Regions from separate parts of the Homo sapiens genome. Here region 2 is linked to region 1. Evidence: promoter capture Hi-C in 16 types of primary human blood cells and fetal thymus (Javierre and others, 2016). All regions are on one chromosome and are shown on one strand. The core of a region is centred on a gene start or on the middle of the fragment in contact, and the rest is flanking DNA. Distances in the headings are between cores, read along the strand shown. Region 1 holds the start of STARD3NL (STARD3 N-terminal like). Region 2 overlaps LINC00265 (long intergenic non-protein coding RNA 265).

Region 1 (4,732 bases), core at 841-3,340:
TTAAAAGCAGGGAGCTTAAGAAAAAGCAAAGACTTTGAGTTCTGCATATAACAATGGAAAGGAAACAAACTACATCGGATAAGGTGCTGAAGGAAACAAGATCTTTTCATTAAGAGGGCCTCTGGAGAAAAAATATATACACAATAAATTACTGCAATGATTTCATAACCAAAACAAAGCAGAAAGTTGGCTAGAGTTTATGAGTATCACTAAAAGAAAACAAGACTCTGCAGTACACAAATTATCTTTCCCTTGCCTGCCTGTAAGGCTCACATGGGATACAAGATGATCCAATCCCTGTACACCTCTCCAGTGTCACCTCTGACCACTGTCTCCTCACCTCACCCTCCCCTAGGTTCACTCAGCTCCAGCCACACGGGCTTCCCTCTGTCCCTGGAACATGCCAAGTTCATTCTTCCTTTAGCTCCTTTACACTGTTTATATCTGCCTAGAAACTTCCAGCCCATTTTCTCATGGCTGACTCAGCTAAACATTCAGCTATCACCCAAAATGTCACCTCGTGTTACCTCCTTAGGGAGGTCTTCCCTGACCATCCCATTTCTCCATACAACCCAGTCACTCTCAAACTCTCTACCCAGTAGTATCTTTTCTGACATTTATTCCTATCTAAACTTGTCTCTTTGATTTACATGTTTATTATATTCTCCAACAAAAGTTAAAGTCTTTGAGGGTATGGGCCTTATCTAAATTGCTCACTACTCAATCTCTAAAACCTAAAACAATGAGTGGCATAGACAATCACTCAGGCAAACTGTCCATTGAATAAATCCAAATGATGTTAATCACCATCCTTCTGTGAACATAAGTAAGGTAATATCCCTCAGAGGCTGTTTCATTTCATTTCTTTCATGCAGTTTTAGGCAATGCAATAATGCAGTTTTAAAAGACCAATGTTTGAGACAGTTAGATTTTAAAGACAGTGACTTCTACACGACAACATATTGTATGTTTTCATTTTATGAACATGAATAATCCACCACCTTATCAGAATCCATCAATAAAACAAGGATACCATAAGTCGTTTTGTGAGATCCTGCTTCTAGAAAGAGGCGTATGGGTAGATATGGTATACAGACGGGAATTACCTTTCAGAATTCTTCCTAACAAGGAAATGTGGCAAACTGGACTAATTCCAGTAAAGATTTAATTAGACCCGTTACTTGGTTACCTTGCTAAACTTATCCAAACTAGTACTGTGTCAAGTGATGAATTCAGTGATTCCATCTGTGAAATAGAAGACAAATGACACAGTGAACAAAGAAAAGTTCCACAATGTCCACCCATGTTTGAACTAAAAGAGAGGGGGAAAAATCCCTAACCCTAAATCAAAAGTATTCAAGCAACTAAGATTTCAAACAATGGCGAGATATCTACGAGTAGGTGAAGCAGTTAACTGAAACCACAGGGAGAACATTCATGATTCGTGCTTTCTTTCTTTTTTTTTTTTTTGAACACGACTTTTCTCAATGAATAGAAGAGACTCACAACCGCCTGTGTCTGGACAACCCACGCATTACACCCAGTCACCAATTCTTGGTCCTTCTTGGGGGCCCATGGCGCCAGCCCGGGGCCGACCCCACCGGGGACTCCTCAGGGTCCGCAGGCTGGAGGAATGAGGACACTCCCGCTACCTATATCCATCCCTGAATCCCGGCCCACGCCGTGGGAGCAGCGGGGCTCAGCATTCTGCAACTTCACTCTTGTGTCCATTATGAGCACAGCCTGCCTCGCCCCTCCTCCTCCCCTGGAGGCTCGCGCAGGACTCAGGAAACAGAACAGGACCAGGATATGGCCTCCGTCCGCGGGTCCCCTGTACGCCCCCATGTAAGTCATCTGACCCAGGAGACTCAGTTTTCCAACCTGTCAAATAGGGGAACGAGAAACCCAGCCTACCTTAACGGGTGGTTCCTGGCCGGCCGCCCCAGGCTGGCCCGGGAACTGCGGATCCGCGGTCGCGCCCCGGCCTGAGGGGCGGGGCTTGGCGGGGCGTGACCGGGACCCAGTCCAGCGGACAACGCGCAGCCCACCGCCCGCACCCAGCAGCCCCGGGACCTCCGGCCCGTGACGTCAGCACGCTGACGTCGACGCACACAGCTCGCATCTCGCTCGAGGGACCAAAGACCCGACTGGTTCCTGAGTGCCTCCATAGAGGAGCCAACCTATTGGCCAGATGACATGTCAATCTTCTACTGACCAGTAAACGACGCGGGAAGGAGGGAGAGGGCGAGCCGGTCTGCCTGTAGGAATGGGTGGGAAATCTGGGCATCCAGCTTTGAAACACGGAGCTGGTTGGACTTTCCCGCATTGTGCATCGCACGGTTTAACAAGCGCCCGCTTCCTCTTCGTCCGCGTTTCTGCGCCTTCCGCTTCCCTTCAGTTATTCGGTGGGGGTTTATGCTCCAGCTCGTGGGAAAATGTCATGGAAATGGGTTTCAGGGCCTCTTGGGCACCTCATGCTGAGCCCTCCAGGAATAAAAACAGGGCATACCATTTCTATGTCGGTACTCAGCTCAAGAGTCACCTCTTCTAACTCTCACTTCCCCCAGACCTATTTAGGATACCTTTTCTCAGCGCTCCTAGTTCATAACTAACATCTCTAAGCGGTAGTCACATTTAATTATATCTATATGTCTGTTTTCACACGAAGTTAGGCACCTTTTATTGTTTTATTTAAAATTTAATTAAACTTTTCTCCCAACGGATGCTACACTTATTCACATTTTTAGAAGTACAGAGGTATACAGTGAACATTCTTTGGATCCCCATTTCATTATTTGTATATTTTTCCAAAGTCATTCTAAGTACCGTTATTAATTTTAAATTACACAAGTAAGATTTTGTCCATGCGAAAAAAAAAAAAAGCTTAAACGTTACAATTATGCTTATATCCCTTTTAGGCCCTAATTACAAACCCAGTCTGTAGATGATGACTCCTAGTTCCTGTGCATTTGCAAGTGTAGATGTTACTTTTTTACACTTAGCATTGAAATCTTTCCATATCTGTATATAAATCTACCTCATTCTCTGAAAATGCTGCATGTCCTCAGAACCAATATGTGTATATATATACATACATAATTAATGTACCATTCCCCCACCCTCACGTTTGTTTATTAATATTATTATGAGAAGCAATGGTACCATAAATATATATGTAGATGCCTTTTTGTACTTAGGTCCAAGTATTTCTCTAGAGTGCAGATACCAACAAGAGAATGTACTGGATCACAGAGTTTGCACGATGTAAATCCTTAATAGATTTCACTGATTTGCTCCCCTGAGTAGTTGTTTTAACTTACATTCCCACTGCTAGTATTTGAGCAATTTTTCCCTGTATCCTCGCCAATACTGATAAAATACAATTTAAAAAAATTTTATAAACTGATAGATGTGAAAACCTTTTAAAGCATAACACATATACAAAATAAGTGTAATAATCATAAGTGCTTGTCTTAGTGACAGTGTGAACAAACTTGTGTAACCACCGCCTCACAGCAAAATTTTAAATGTTTACCAGCAATTTAGAAGCTTTCCTCATGCTCAGTCTTAGTCATTATACCCCTACACACAGATAGGCACAATTCTGAATCCTACCACCCAATTAGTTTTGCCTGCTTCTGAATGTTTATAAATAGTCATACATAATACGCACTCTTATGTGGCTCTTTTTGCTTAATACTATATTTGTAAGATTGATCCATATTCAAGAATATAATAGTTTCATTTTCATTTTTGTATATAATTCTAAAATTTACTTGCCTATTCTACTGTTGTTTGACATTAGATTATTTAAAGTTTGGGGTAATTACAAATGACGCTGCTATGAATATTCTTGTACCTGTCTTATGATGCACATAGTTACACATTTGATTTTGGAAGATCCCTGGAAGTAGTGTTACTATGCACAGGGTATATATTCAATATATTCAACATTAATAGACACTGCCAAATAGTTTTTAGGTTTTACTAATTTATACATGCCCTAGTCGTGAATGAAAATTTCAGTTACTCTGCATCTTTGCCAACACTTACTATACTCATTTGTGTTTTGTGTTCTTCCTTTTTCTTTTCCTTTTTAAATGTTATACATTCTGGTGAATATGTAGAGGCATCACATTGTGGATTTAATTGCATTCACTCATGTGTAGCCTCTGAAGTCTCAAAGAAATTGATGGAAACCATTCCTAAGGAAGCCCAGATAGTGGACTTATTAGATAATGATTTAAGTCAACTGTCTTACATATGCTCAAAGAACTAAAGGAAACTGAGAGATGAAGCCGGCTGGGCTTCTAGGTTGGGTGGGGACTTGGAGAACTTTTCTGTCTAGCTAAAGGATTGTAAACACACCAATCAGCACTCTGTGTCTAGCTAAAGGTTTGTAAATGCACCAATTAGCACTCTGTGTCTGGCTAATCGGGTGGGGACTTGGAGAACTTTTCTGTCAAGCTAAAGGATTGTAGATGCACCAATCAGCACTCTGTGTCTGGCTAAAGGTTTGTAAACGCACCAGTCAGCACTCTGTAAAAACGGACCAATCAGCACTCTGTAAATGGACCAATCAGCGCTCTGTAAAATGGACCAATCAGCAGGATGTGAGTGTGGCCAAATAAGGGAATAGAAGCAGGCCACCCGAGCCAGTAGCAGCAACCCACCTCGACTTCCACACTGTGGAAGCTTTGTTCTTTCGCTCTTTGCAATAGATCTTGCTGCT
Region 2 (4,551 bases), core at 1,918-4,417, 1.6 Mb before region 1:
GCACTTTGGGAGGCTAAGGTGGGTGGATCACTTGAGGTCAGGAGTTCGAGACCAGCCTGACCAACATGGTGAAACCCAGTCTCTACTAAAAATACAAAAGTTAGCCAGGCATGGTGGTGCATATCTGTAATCCCAAGTACTCAGGAGGGTGAGGCAGGAGAATTGCTTGAACTTGGGAGGCAGAAGTTGCAGTGAGCCAATATGGCACCACTACACTCCAGCCTGGGTGACAGGCAAGACTCTGTCTCAAACAAAACAAAACAAAACAAACAAACAAACATATATATATATATATATATATATATATATATTTTTTTTTTTTTTTTTTAGCTATTTTACTCACTATAAGACAGCCCAGCTATTGATAAACAGATGATTGCCTCCCCTAAGAACCTGTAGATAGATCCAGAATGGTGTTCCAGCCACAACCACGTTAGTCATGGTACTTTGTAGGTATGACCTCAATTTTAGAGCTTCCTTTTCTAGACCCATAAAAGTGAAGATAGTTTTGTTTTGAGGGCTTAAAATTATTCAACATATGTAAAGCATTTTTGTTAACTGACACACAAAAGACACCAATAAATGTCATTGCCCTGCTTTTGGTGTATCCAAGGAACTTAATTTCAGAATTTGGGTTTCAGATACACCACATCATTTCAAAAGATGCCCAGTTTTCCAGGGCATTAATAAATAGTCTGTAGTCTCTCTTGTTTTGATAAAGTATTTTTGTCTTTGTGTCAGTTACTTTGGATAAAAATTGCCAACAGTTCCTGGACCCTTTTCCTTCAAGAGAGCAAAAGAAATGGGATTGGTGGGTTAGGACAGATATTCTTTTTTTTTTTCTTTGAGGCAGGGTCTCTCTCTGTCGCCCAGGCTGGAGTGCAATGGGATGATCTCGGTGCACTGCAACCTCCACCTCCCAGGTTCAAGCGATTCTCCTGGCTGAGCCTCCCAAGTAGCTGGGTCTATAGGTGTGTGCCACCACACTTGGCTAATTTTTGTCTTTTTAGTTGAGATGGGGTTTCATCATACTGGTCAGGCTGGTCTCGAACTCCTGACCTCAAGTGATCCACCCACCTTGGCCTCCCAAAGTGCTGGGATTACAGTCATGAGCCACCGCACCTGGCCTCAGGTATTCTTGTTTAATCCTGTCAGCAGGTTGAGTTGCCGCACTTGTGCTCCAAGTTTGATATATAAAGGATCAACATCTGAAAGGGTTTAGAAGAAGCCAGACTGTTTGTGAGGTTTCCACCTACGCCCCTCTGGGCTCTGATACTGTAACAGCATGGAGGTGGCATACGTCTCAGGATCCCTGGAGAACAGCAGGTGGGCTCTTTGACTGTATTTTTCTATTCAACATAGTTAACCAAGTGACTTCAGACAGACCAACCGACTATGCCACACTCAACAGTCCCTGGCCTCAAAGCTTCTGCCTCCTAAGTTTCTTTTTTTTTTCTTTCAATAAGCCCAACCAGAAGGACAAGCCATAGGCATAAGCATAGCATTTGGTGGGTAGAGAGGAAACTGAAGTCCCTTCCAAACAAAACTCCATGTCCTCAATATGTTAAGAGGTACCTCCCCCAACATGGCTAGTCCTAGTATAAATCCAACGTCTTGCTGATGTTCCAAAGGAGAAAAATGCAACTGTCAGAAGCCTGATAGACTATGAAGCATATAAGTACATGAAAGCTACATAGTTGGCTGGGCACAGTGGCTCACACCTGTAATCCCAGCACTTTGGGAGGCTGAAGCAGGAGGTTCGCTTGAGCCCAGGAGATTGAGATCAGCCTCAGCAACATAATGAGACCCTGTCTCTATATAAAATAAAAATAAAATATTAGCCAGGCATGGTGGCATGGTGGCATTATCCTAGCTACTCCAGAGGCTGAGGCAAGAGGATTGCTTGAGCCCGGGAGGTTGAATCTGCAGTGAGTCGTGATTGTGCCACTGCACTCCAGCCTGGGCAACAGAGTGAGACCCTATCTCAAAAAAAAGAAAAAGAATACTACATAATTTATGAAACAGAAGTTCATTTATACTGTGACAGTGTGTAAATATTGCAATTCTTTCAGTAAGACAGAAACTAAAAACAAAGGTTAACTTACGAATATGTTCATATAAAGAGACCACATTGGCAAAAGAAGAGATATGTGTGGAAAATCTTTCTATTTTATCCACTAAAAAAGCTACCCCATTTTCTCACCTCTCCAAACGATAATAATAGCTAAGATTTACATACCACTTAGTAACGCTTCATATGCATTCACTCATTCATTCCCCATAACTACCCATGAGGCAGATAGTATTTTTCTCACTAGTTTACAGATGAGGAAACTGAGGTCGTTAACCATCAGCCCTAGCAGCACGAGCCTTGCTACTTCACTTTGTCATCACTCAGCTCTTTCAGTGGTTTTTGAGGCCTGGCTAAAGGCCAGTCTCCCTGGTCTAGGATTATTGGTTCTGAGATAAGAACTGCCAGACCTCCATGCACCCTAGGGATAGCTTCCTGCCACCAGCTGAGATCAGTGATGCTGGGTTATCCATAGCTAAAAAGGGCTGTCATCACTGAGACTGTCGGCATCCCTGCAATCTGGCTGGCTCCTGCCTGGTTCACCCACCTCCAGGTTGTTAAGTTAGGTCAGAAATGGGGGGCTTGTCTCTCACTGGTTTATTCCTCTTGAGAGCTACTTAGAGAAGTGGAGAGATCAATACTCTTGAATGGAAGAAGGACATGAGTCCATAGGTCAGGAGAGATCTGAGCTGCCAGTAAAGAGGTAGGAACTATCTGCAGAGAGGGTACTTGAGGTGAGAAGCCAGCTTAGGCCAGTACCCACAGGGATGCCAACATCTAAGCATCTGGCAGATGACTTGGTGTTATTTCCTTAAGCTCCATAATTACCTCTAGTTTGTTATTCTCCTTGCATCCAATTGTGTTTCCATAATAAAAACTGCAAAACCCTTAATTATGGCAAAGTTCTGTAACCTTGTCTTTGGGAATAGTGAGGACAGAGGGAATGTAAGAGACAGGGTCCCATTTTACAGCAGATTACAGTAAATCTAACTTTTTTCCTATTTTATTATTTATTTATTTTTGATTGTTGTTGTTGTTGTTGTTGTTGTTTTTGTTTTTTTTTTTTTTTGAGACGGAGTCTTACACTGTCACCCAGGCTGGAGTGCAGTGCCATGATCTCAGCTCACTGCAACCCCCGCCTCCCAGGTTTCAAGCAATTCCCCTGCCTCAGCCTCCAGAGTAACTGGGATTACAGGCGTGCACTATGCCCGGCTAATTTTTGTTTTTGTTTTTTTTCAAGACCGAGTCTTGCTCTGTCATCTAGGCTGGAGTGCAGTGGCACGATCTCAGCTCACTACAATCTCCACCTCCTGGGTTCAAGAGATTCTCCTGCCTCAGCCTCTCGAGTAGCTGGGATTACAGGCACACACACTATGCCTGGCTAATTTTTGTACTTTTAGTAGAGACAGGGTTTCACCATGTTGGCCAGGCTGGTCTCGAACTTCTGACCTCGTGATCCGCCCACCTTGGCCTTTCAAAGTGCTGGGATTACAGGTGTGTGCCACTGTGCCTGGCCTAGGGTAAATCTATATATAAAAAAACTGATGCCTGGAACGGGAAGGAGACTAGCAAATTAAGGTACAGACCTCTCAAGATCTACTGGAGGGGAGAGTGAAGTGACCAGGGTAAGAGAGAAGCAAGCTGAAGCCCTAGGAATTCCAGAAGTGGGAGGTGAGGTGGAGAGAGGAAGACCAGGAAGCCAGACTAGCTTAAAGAGGAACGAGTTAACAGAAGAATAAGCATTATGACCCAACACAGAATACAAATTTAATAAGAACCCATTTTCTTTATTAAAAATTAAAGACATAATGGCCATTTATTAAAAGCCATGTGTTTGGCACTTTTTGTAGTGGTTTCACATAATTCTAGGGGCATCCCACTGAAGAAGGGTTTACAATCCTCATTCTACAAATGGGGAAGCAGAGGCTCTGAAGGATCTCCTTGTGAATTGCTAATTAGAAGCTCTGGAAATTACCTATGTTCTGACTCAGCCACTTCCTCACTGTGGGACCTGGGGCACGTCACTTCATCTTGAACCCTTGAAAGACACCTGGCAGCTGAGCGACCCCTCTGACTGGGAGTCACAGGACTCTAGGGGTTCTAATGTCCCTCCACTGCACTGTCCCCCTGCCCCCTGCATTCTGTCAACCTTAAACAATGAAGTTCAGAAAATGTAAATAAGCATAGAGTTTATTTAAACACAAAGATTGAGGATGGCCATCCAGGAAAGCGCTGACTCCAAACAAATGATGTCAGCGTTTCCAAGGTGAAGTTAAGGTTTCAATTATATAGACGGAGGCAGGGACATTCCAGCAGGATTACAAATGTGCATGCAAGTTGCATACCTACAACGATGTGGTTGGTTTCAGATTGCTACATTCCAAGGAAGATTATGACTGTGAGGAGGGACAATGATCTAAAGGGGTCTTACCTTGGATGCTACTTGGTCTTCTTAATTATTTACAGCGGAAAAAGGCAGA

What was found. The method cuts DNA at HindIII sites, captures the fragments that hold promoters and counts their contacts. A CHiCAGO score of 5 or more calls a contact.
Region 2: a contact is called between a fragment that was not itself captured here and the fragment with the promoter of STARD3NL in region 1, in 1 of 17 cell types (fetal thymus). The highest score is 8.2, in fetal thymus.

The regions. Positions count from the first base shown.
Region 1 is chr7:38,175,603-38,180,334 of GRCh38, reverse strand. It overlaps STARD3NL (STARD3 N-terminal like), which reads right to left and starts at 2,090. Exons shown (of 9, transcript NM_032016.4): 1 at 1,915-2,090. RefSeq lists a silencer at 1,834-2,113 and enhancers at 2,364-2,443, 4,191-4,732. The HindIII fragment of the contact is 5,243 bases long and covers 1-2,885 here.
Region 2 is chr7:39,733,996-39,738,546 of GRCh38, reverse strand. LINC00265 (long intergenic non-protein coding RNA 265) reads right to left here. Exons shown (of 12, transcript NR_026999.1): 1 at 4,503-4,551. Among named protein-coding and RNA genes, the nearest start is that of LINC00265, 2.7 kb to the right of the region's middle. RefSeq lists enhancers at 2,984-3,755, 3,960-4,551. The HindIII fragment of the contact is 3,477 bases long and covers 1,429-4,551 here.